Linked DNA regions of Homo sapiens: region 1 is linked to region 2. The links are contacts of gene promoters, found by promoter capture Hi-C in human tissues and cell types (Jung and others, 2019). All regions are on one chromosome and are shown on one strand. The core of a region is centred on a gene start or on the middle of the fragment in contact, and the rest is flanking DNA. Distances in the headings are between cores, read along the strand shown. Region 1 has its middle 2.7 kb from the start of NFATC2. Region 2 holds the start of KCNG1 (potassium voltage-gated channel modifier subfamily G member 1).

Region 1 (4,753 bases), core at 1,555-4,054, 520 kb after region 2:
CCCCTTCTATTGCAGACCCGTGTCTCCAGGCGTCTCCGTGTGCCCACGGGGGCGGCATGATTTTCACAGTACTTCAGACACCTGCATGGCCCTGAACTCAACTCCCCAGCGCCTAGGAAGGAATCGGACTGACAGCACTAGTCCCCCCCGTTACAGCTATGCCTCCTGGCCACCTACCACGTGCCAGGTGCTGGGCACCCAGCCGGAGCCAGACACTGTTGCCCTCGGAAGCTCAGGCTCTGGTAGTGGGAGAGGCCTGAAGGAGAGAAACAGGACAAAAAGCATCTGCTTATGGGGCCAGGAGAGAACTCACCAGGGTATGGGATAAAGGTTGGGGTGGCTTTAGTCCCTTGGGTGGTCAAGGAGGACCTCTCTGAGGAGGTGACATTTGAAGAAACCTGATTGATGAGGCGATCTTGGGGAAGTGTGTTCTGGCAGTGAGAACCAAAACACAGAGCCAGAGCTCGAAGGGGCTGGGTGTGCTGGAGGGAGAACGAGGAGTACAGTTCTGATGGGGCGGTTGGCAAGTGACAAACACGCCTGGCTGCTTGTTTAAAGCATGATTCCCAGGCCCCTCCCTGGAGCTTCTGATTCCATAAGTCTGAATACAGACTCGTGAATGTGTATTTTTAATTAAGCACCCAACGTGAGCATTAATGAACAGGTACATTTGGCAAACACTGCATAAGGACCCAGTAACTAAAGAACACCCTCCAATAAAACTCTGCCAGGGGGCTCCACCAACTTAGCTGAAGTTGGAAACAGACTCACAGAGGTAGAAAAGATCAAAACAGTGGTCTTCAACCCTTCCCACATATTAGAATCACCTGGGACACCTTTTTAAACTCCCGTGCTGGGCTGCAATCCAAACCCACTGAAGCAGAATTCCTAATTTTTTTTTTTTTTTTTTTTTTTTTTTTTGGAGACGGAGTCTCGCTCTGTCGCCCAGGCTGGAGTGCAGTGGCGCGATCTTGGCTCATTGCAAGCTCTGCCTTCTGGGTTCACGCCATTCTCCTGCCTCAGCCTCCCGAGTAGCTGGGACTACAGGCGCCAGCCACCATGCCTGGCTACTTTTTTGTATTTTTAGTAGAGATGGGGTTTCACTGTGTTAGCCAGGAAGGTCTTGATCTCCTGACCTCGTGATCCACCCGCCTCGGCCTCCCCAAGTGCTGGGATTACAGGTGTGAGCCACCACGCCCGGCCTGAAAATTTTTTTAAACTTCAGATGAATCTAAGGTGCAGCCAGTGTTGAGGATGAGAAGATTAGACGGGAGAGGTCTTAAGATCCTCGTGAGAACCACAGCTTGACCTCAAGTGATTCGAATCCTTCCCCATGTGCCAGGAGGAATTGAGGACACGCATTCTTCAGGGGAGCCATCTCAGCTCCATTAAGGGGATTTGTGCCAAGCCATCCATCATTCCACAAATATTTATTGAGCACCTGCCTGGCACTGCCACAAGATGTTGGGGATGCAACCATCAACAAGCCACAGCCTCTCCCTTCATCATGCTTATGCCCTGAAAGCAAAGTAGCACAGTTATGAACGGGGTTTTCAAAATTGCACTCAGACCAGTGGTTCTTAACCCAGACTACACATTAGAATCACCTGGAGAGCTGTTAAAATTTGTATTCAACGACCTGAGCACCACCAGACATCGATTTGATCAGAATGTTTGGGGTTGGGACTTAGGCATCAGTATTTTGTAAAAGCTCACCAGATGCTTCCAATGTGTGGCCAGAGATGAGAACCACTTTGGTTTAGACTCAAACTCTACTGCAGGGGCCTGGGGGCTGGCTCAGGAATCATTTCAGAGTCTTGGGCAGCACCTCCTGGTTGTCAGAGCATAAAGAAATTCCAGCCTTTGTTTCCTAACTATAAGCACTTCTGTGCCATGTGTATCCAACAAGCATCTTGGGGGCAGCTGATGCATTTAGGTGGAGGAAGGAAGAGTGAAGACCCCAGCTAGGATACTTATAGACAGGTATCTAGAAAGAGATGGATTCTTCTGGGTCCTTATGACAGGGACCCAAGGTCCAGATGATGAAATTTTGGCCAATAAACAAGAAAACCAGGCTTCCCCTGTGATTTAGAAAAGGAGAAAAGCTAGGAATGCCTCCCCACATCCTTTCTCGTCCCTCCATCCCATAATTATTAAGTGCCACTAAATCTAGTGGACATTTGTTGATTGTGCCTACCCAGAATAATTCCTCCCTTCTTCTCATAACAGCACCCCAGTGTGTTCCTTGGGGAAACTACTCTAAACATAATCTTGGTAGAGCTATCAACCCAGCTGCCCCACCTTCCCCAAGCAACGAAGTGGATGAATGACCCAGACTGCGCCAATCAGAGAATTTTATCTCCACTAACTAGCCTGAGATCCACTAAGGCAGGGGCTATGACCACCTCATTCGCAGCTTTATGTGCAATGGATGTGTGGATAAATGGAGGATGGATAAGTAGATGGATTGATGGATGGGTGAATGGAAGATGGATGCATGGATGGAAGATGGATGGATGGATGAATAGATGGGTGGATGGATGGATAGGGGATGGATTGATGGATGGGTGAATGGAAGATGGATGCATGGATGGAAGATGGGTGGATGGATGAATAGATGGGTGGATGGATGGATAGGGGATGGATGGAAGAATGGATGGATGATGGATGGAGGAGTGGATGGAGGGTGGATGGACGGATGGATGGAGGATAAATGGATAAATGGATGAATGAAAGATACATGGATGGATTGATGGAGGATAGATGGATGAATGGATGGATGAAAGAGTGAATGTGTTGCACGGATGAGTGGATCCATTAATCAATGGAAGAGTAGATGTTTGCCTGGATGAATGTAGAGTTTGACTCTCCTTAAAATCCTTAGAGTTTTCTTTAAGGGTCCTCCACCCTGAGGCTTACCCTGGCCACCCAAATGCTATGGCAAGAACCTAAATTCTTACCCCAATTCCACTTCCTCTTCAGATACCCAATGATAAAATGAGATATTAAAGGGAAGATCACTTTGCAACTGATCAAGTGCTACAAAAATTTCAGCCTGAGGCAGGACCGTTCAGGACAGTCTAACTGCCTTTGTTGTCCCTCTGAACAGTGGATATATTTTCAAAGCTTCTAGGATTTGGAGTCTGGACTATTGTAGTCAGAGTTCTTTAAAAGGAAGTGCTTCAGACTAGGTGCCAACCCATAAAAGAGTTTCTGCTGGACAGTGGGGAGTAAAAGGGTCTTCTTCCCTAAAGGTTACCTTGAAGGGTGGGAGTTTGGGCTGGGGGAAAGGCATATTTTCAATTCAAAAATAAATAATCTGTGCTCTTAGGAACAAGGTCCAGGAGCAGAATGCATGAGCTTTATGCATCGAGAGTGACTCTGGGAGGTGGAGGGATGGAGGTGGGATGGTGATCTTCACAGGGCATCGCTGTCAACTTTCTCTCTATCCTGTGTCTGACCTCCTTTGGACACCCTGGCCTCTGAGTTTTTCCCCAGCCTCTCCAACCGAAGTGCAACAGAAAGCTAGTGAAGCCACTGAGACTTTGAAACTTCTAGCACACATTGGTACTATTTGACCCTGGCCCAGGAACTCAGCTCCCTTCAACATGCACTTAACCCACAGTCTAATTACAGACTGAGGTATGTGCCGTGAAAGGCAAGGAGAATGTGTTACAGAGCTTATGTCAAGGAAACCTGACGTAGACAGGGAATTCAGATAAGGCTGCCCTAGGGAGGCGATGTTTAAGCTGGGACTGGAAGGTTGGTAGAAGTTAGTTAGGGAATGATGAGGGGAGGTACTAACAGAGCGATGAGGGAGTATGTGTAAAGGCTCTGAGGCAGGAGGAAAGTATGAAACGATGGAGGACCCGAAAGAAGACAGGAGTGGCAGGTGCTCAGGGAAGGATGAGAAGATGGTGTAAGATCAGGCTGGGAGGTAAGTGGGGCCCAGGAGACCATGTTGAGAGTTTGGGACCTGAAAGCAATTGGGAACAACTGGAGAGTGTTAGGCAGCACATGACAGAATCATAGACGAGTTTTTAGATGATGGCTCTGGGTTCTCTGAGGATGAGAAATTGCAGGGGCAAGGGTTGAAGCCGGAGGACCAAGTAGATGGTTCTTATAGCCGTCCAGGAAAGAGATAATGGGGGCGTAGACTACAGAGACAAGTGGTAGCCATAGAGATAAGAAAATGTGGAAGGATTCACAAGACTCATAGACTGTCATCCTTTGGTCCCTCTGTGAGTTACCTCTCTTCCTCTTCTAGGCTTCCTTAAAATGGAGCATAATTTGGGTCCACCTGGATAGAAACAGTCAAGAAGCACTGACTCCCGAAACGCCTTCAAGAAGCTCCTCCTACCACCCAAGGTGGCTCTGCGTCCCCAGGCTGCTTCAAGATGGCCCTGGAGTTACCCACCACCTACAGCTCTGCCTTCCTTTCCACCTTCTGGTAGAAAGCTCATTTTTATCTACAACCTGGGCCTCTCCACAGAAATCCAGGCTTGTATATCCAATGACGACCCAACATCTCCACGGGAGCATCTAACAGGCACCTCAGTGTGAATGTGTCCAAAACCAAACCCTACGTCTCCAGCTGTTCCTGCCTCACTGTGCCTCAACTCAAGTATTGCTCTGCCTGTAATCCAGTTCTCCAATCAAACACCAAAGAGTGGTTCTTGAGTCCTCGCCTTTTCTCATGCCCACGTGCAAACCCTCAGCAAAAGCAGGCAGTTGCACCAAATGTAACCCAAAG
Region 2 (4,236 bases), core at 55-2,554:
GGTGGGAACCTGCATTCCTCAGTAATGTCGGATCAGTGTTTCTCAACTCCTCCCCACCCTACCCCATCACCCGCCCCTAAGGAGCTTTGAAAAGATCTTTTCTTCCTATTCTAGAACCAATTCCAGCTTCCACACCTCCCACCTTGAGAAGGAATGCATTAGATGAACCAAGACTTCTGCCTATATACATGGGCTGCTACAGTTGGCCACCCCGGCAGTCTGCGGCCTCCCAAGCGGGGGCCTGGGTCTTAATCCTTACTTCTCTCTAAGCTGCATGAAGGGTGCCCCCATTCCATCCCTCTTCACTTCTCCCCAGCATAGCGCCTCCATAAATGTTTGTGAACTGGATGAATGACTGTTGAGCGCTTGGTATGATGAGCTGCTTACAATAGGTGCTCAACCAATCTTTGTCCAATCTATGAATGAATGAATGAACTTCACCCTTTTCCTTCCATACCTCCGGGCTGAGCCTCTCTCCCACATGGAAACCCTAAGGCTGAGACCACCACCTTCCTACCAGTTCCTGGGGGTGCCCAGTGAACTGTCTCAGTATCCCCAGTGCCTAGCACACAGTAGGCGCTCAATAAACGCTTGCTGTGTTCATAATGAATGACTCAATCAGGCCCACGGTGGGGGTGAAGGGGGGCTCCATACTGTGCCTAAGGATACAGTGAATGAGCAAGTGACACACACTCCCCCACCCCAATCCCTAACTCTCCTTCCTCCCAGGATCGGGGGAGAAACCTCGGCCCACAGCCGGGATGCGCCCCCGCCGGGGTCACCGCGGCGGCGAACGTCCCGGACTTCGCATCCCGGTGACCCCTTGGGATGAACCGAAGCCGGACCCGCACCTTGGCCGTAACAAGCGCGCTCCACGCCGCCACGCACCAGCGGTGACTCCCGAGTCCTCTGTCGCCCTGGCCTCCCCGCAGGCGGGTTTCGAGGCCCCCGCAGGGAGTTCAGGGCCACGGCCACGTGCAGCCGCCCCCGAGCCCGAGTTTGCAGGCTCGGGGTCCGGTTCGCGCTTCGGTGGCGCCCGGCGAGGCTGCAGCGCGCAAAGTTCCCACCTCAAGTTCCCGTCGCGGCGTCCCCGCCTCGGAGTTGGCCCGGCCGCGGCTTCCGTTCCCCCCGGCTGCCCACGGGTCCGGGGCGAGGACGCGAGAGGGGCCTGGAAGTCGCCCGGGGAGCCCGCTCTGCCTCCCGGAGCCGCCGCCAAACTTCGGTCCCGGGGCCCGGCTCAGCTCCCGCCCTCGGAGCCACGGCCGCCCCGTCTCTGCCTCCCGGTCCCCGCCGGGCTCCGAGTGCGCCGGGAGCGCGGCGCAGCAGCCGCCGAGGGAGGGAGCGAGGCAGGAGGCGGGACGGAGGGAGGGGACTGAGCGCGGGGCGGGGAGAAGGGGCGGGCAGCCGAAAGCGCAGCGCCTGGCCTCGCCTCGCTTCGGGACAGTGGCAGCGGCGCCACCGTCACGGGGCGTCCAGGCGCCCAATCGGGACCCCGCACCTTGGATCCGGGGGCCCTGGCGCGCCTGCTGGATTGCGCTCCTCGCGGCCAGTTCCTGAGCCCGCGTCCGGGACTGCTCGCGCTACGCCCTCCCTCCCGTTGCCTTCTTCCCCGTCTGCTCTCCCAGGAGCGACCACCCTGCGGCCCCTTCGCCTGCACGCGACAGCCTTCAAGGTCCCCGCGCTCCGCTGCCCTGGAGCTTCACGCACCAGGCGGCGCGGCAGCCTCCTAGGGTCGCGCGCCCTGTCAGCTTTCCCCGCGGTGCAAGTGCTCCGGTGGTCCCGGGTCCGCGCCCCTAGCAGCACCGCCCCAGGGTCTACATGTGCTAGATATTAAAACCCCACTCTCCGCTGCCCCGGGGCCGCGCTCCACGCGCTTACACATCCTGGGAACCACATGCGCCATGTCTCCTGCCTTTCCCTGGAAGTCCTGGAAGTCCAAGTGCACTGCTGCCTCTGGGTCCCTCGCCCCCCTACCCCGGGCAAATACTGCATCCTTGAGGCCCTCCACGCGCTGCTGCCCTGGAGCCGAACGCTCCAAGCAAGCTTCCACATCCTGGGGGCCATATATCGCGCGCCTTTTCTCGACCTCCTAGACCAATGTTGCCCTTGGGCCCTTCCTGCCACCGCCACCCAGGGACTGCCAGCATCTTGCTGTGCCAAATTCCTAGGGCCAGTACGTACCGTGCCAGGTGTTTTCCCTTCCAGTCCCGCGGGGCCGAGGCCCCAGAGCCCTCCCGGGCTAGCAGAGCCGCACTTCGTCGTCCACTCCCCTGGCCGGTGCAGGGCACTTGGACCAGGTCCTGGGGTCTTGCTCCCAGTGTGGCCGCCTAGCCTCGGAGTTGGTAGGATGCTGCACAGATGCTGGAGGTTGGGTTGGAGGGATCTATTGGGTTGGAGGAATCTACTGAGTTGGAGGGACCTATTGGTTTGGAGGGATCTGTGCTGCTGGCAGGGCTGGCCTCTTAGGGTGGCTTGCCTTGCACTCCGTTCCTCTTCTCCTTTCTGTCTCTTGCACTCCGTTCCTCTTCTCCTTTCTGTCTCTTGCACTCCGTTCCTCTTTTCCTTTCTGTCTCTACTGCCTTTGCCTATCATCAGAGAACCAAGAAAGGACATGAAGAAACCCTGCTGCCGACCAGCCTGAGGCCTTCTGCTTGAGTGGGGCTCGGGTTGGGGAGTCGTGGGTGCTCATTAAGTGGGTTAGGGTTAACCCTAAGAAATGAGCGCAGGGCACACTAGCCTGCGCGGCAGTCCCAGCCGGGTGGAGCATAGGAGTTCCAGGTTATAGTGCACTATGATGGCACCACTGCAATCCAGCCTGCGTGACTGAGCGAGATCCAGCCTCTAAAACAACAAGAATAAAAACACTGGCTTACTGGTGAGGTGGAGGCCTGGACAGACAAGGATCTGCCTAAGGACCTGTTTCCAAGAGCTCACCTTCTACTGGGGGCTTGGCAGAATTGGGAAACTGCTGAAATACGTGATTGCAGAATGAAGCCAGAGAGGCCACTTTAGATAGAATAATGGGGGAGGGCTCCTGTGGAGGTGATGGTTACATGGAGCCCTGAGCCAGAAGGAGCCCATCTGGCAAGATGGGAAGAGAGCTTTCTAGGTGGACAGAACATCAAAGGCACTGGCCTTCAAGCAGGAGAGAAGGAGGCATGTCTGAGAAACATCAAAGAGACCAACCAGCAGTGTGGGGGAGGGGCCTGAGTGGGGTGGGGTGGGCTTTTGTTGTCAGAGGGTCCCTGGATTACATATTGAGAAACACTCCTCTTGTGGTGGATCAGGCTTCTGCCTTCCTTTCCCATCTGAAATTTTTTTTTTTTTTTTTTTTTTTGAGACATAGTCTCTCTGTGTCTCCCAGGCTGGAGTGCAGTGGTGTGATCTCAGCTCACTGCAACTTCCATCCCCCTGGGTTCAAGCGATTCTCCTGCCTCAGCCTCCTGAGTAGCTGGGACTACAGGTGTGTGCCACCATGCCCAGCTAATTTTTGTATTTTTAGTAGAGACGGAGTCTCACCATGTTAGCCAGGCTAGTTTTGAACTCGCAACCTCAAGTGATCCGCCAGCCTCAGCCTCCCAAAATGCTGGAATTACAGGCGTGAGCCACTGCACCCAGCCAGAAAATTGCTCTCTATCTTGTTTTTGAGACAGGGTCTGACTCTGTCACCCGCTGGAGTGCAGTGGTGCAATCATAGCTCACTGTAACCTCTAACTCCTGGGCTCTAGGGATCCTCCTGCCTCAGACTTCTGAGTAGCTGGGACTACCACACACCACCATGCACCACTAATTTAAAACAAAATATATTTTTTGCAGAGACAGGCGGGTCTGGAACTCCTAGGCTTAAGACATCCACCCACCTTGGCCTCCCAAAGTGCTGGGATTACAGATGTGAGCCGCTGCACCTGGCCATGTTTCTATCTTTTTTACTTGCGTATTATCTGTGTCCCCACTGGGGACCAAGCTCCATCAGGGCAAGGACTGTGTGCTGTCTCTCCCCTCTCCAGCAGCTCCCACTCTGCTAGGCACATACAGAGCAGGCTTCTTAAATGATTCCTGGAAATGATTCCTGGGGGAATTCAGGACAGTTTTCTGGAATAGATGTGACTGCGTCAGAGAGTCAGACTCCTCACTGATGCTCACAGGGTAAGGATGCAGAGCAGGGCCTCTCAGACTTTACTGTGCATCTGAATCCCCCTGAGGGCTTATTAAAACCCAGACGGCTGGCCCCCACCC

The links. Contacts are between HindIII fragments. The study calls those that stand out against the background at their distance.
Region 1: a contact is called between a fragment that was not itself captured here and the fragment with the promoter of KCNG1 in region 2, in 1 of the 25 tissues and cell types used here (lymphoblastoid cells).

The regions. Positions count from the first base shown.
Region 1 is chr20:51,543,084-51,547,836 of GRCh38, forward strand. It overlaps a transcript of NFATC2 not described here. Among named protein-coding and RNA genes, the nearest start is that of NFATC2, 2.7 kb to the left of the region's middle. The HindIII fragment of the contact is 6,107 bases long and covers 1-4,753 here.
Region 2 is chr20:51,021,803-51,026,038 of GRCh38, forward strand. It overlaps KCNG1 (potassium voltage-gated channel modifier subfamily G member 1), which reads right to left and starts at 1,305. Exons shown (of 3, transcript NM_002237.4): 1 at 1,068-1,305. RefSeq lists a silencer at 1,234-1,403. The HindIII fragment of the contact is 10,697 bases long and covers 1-3,439 here.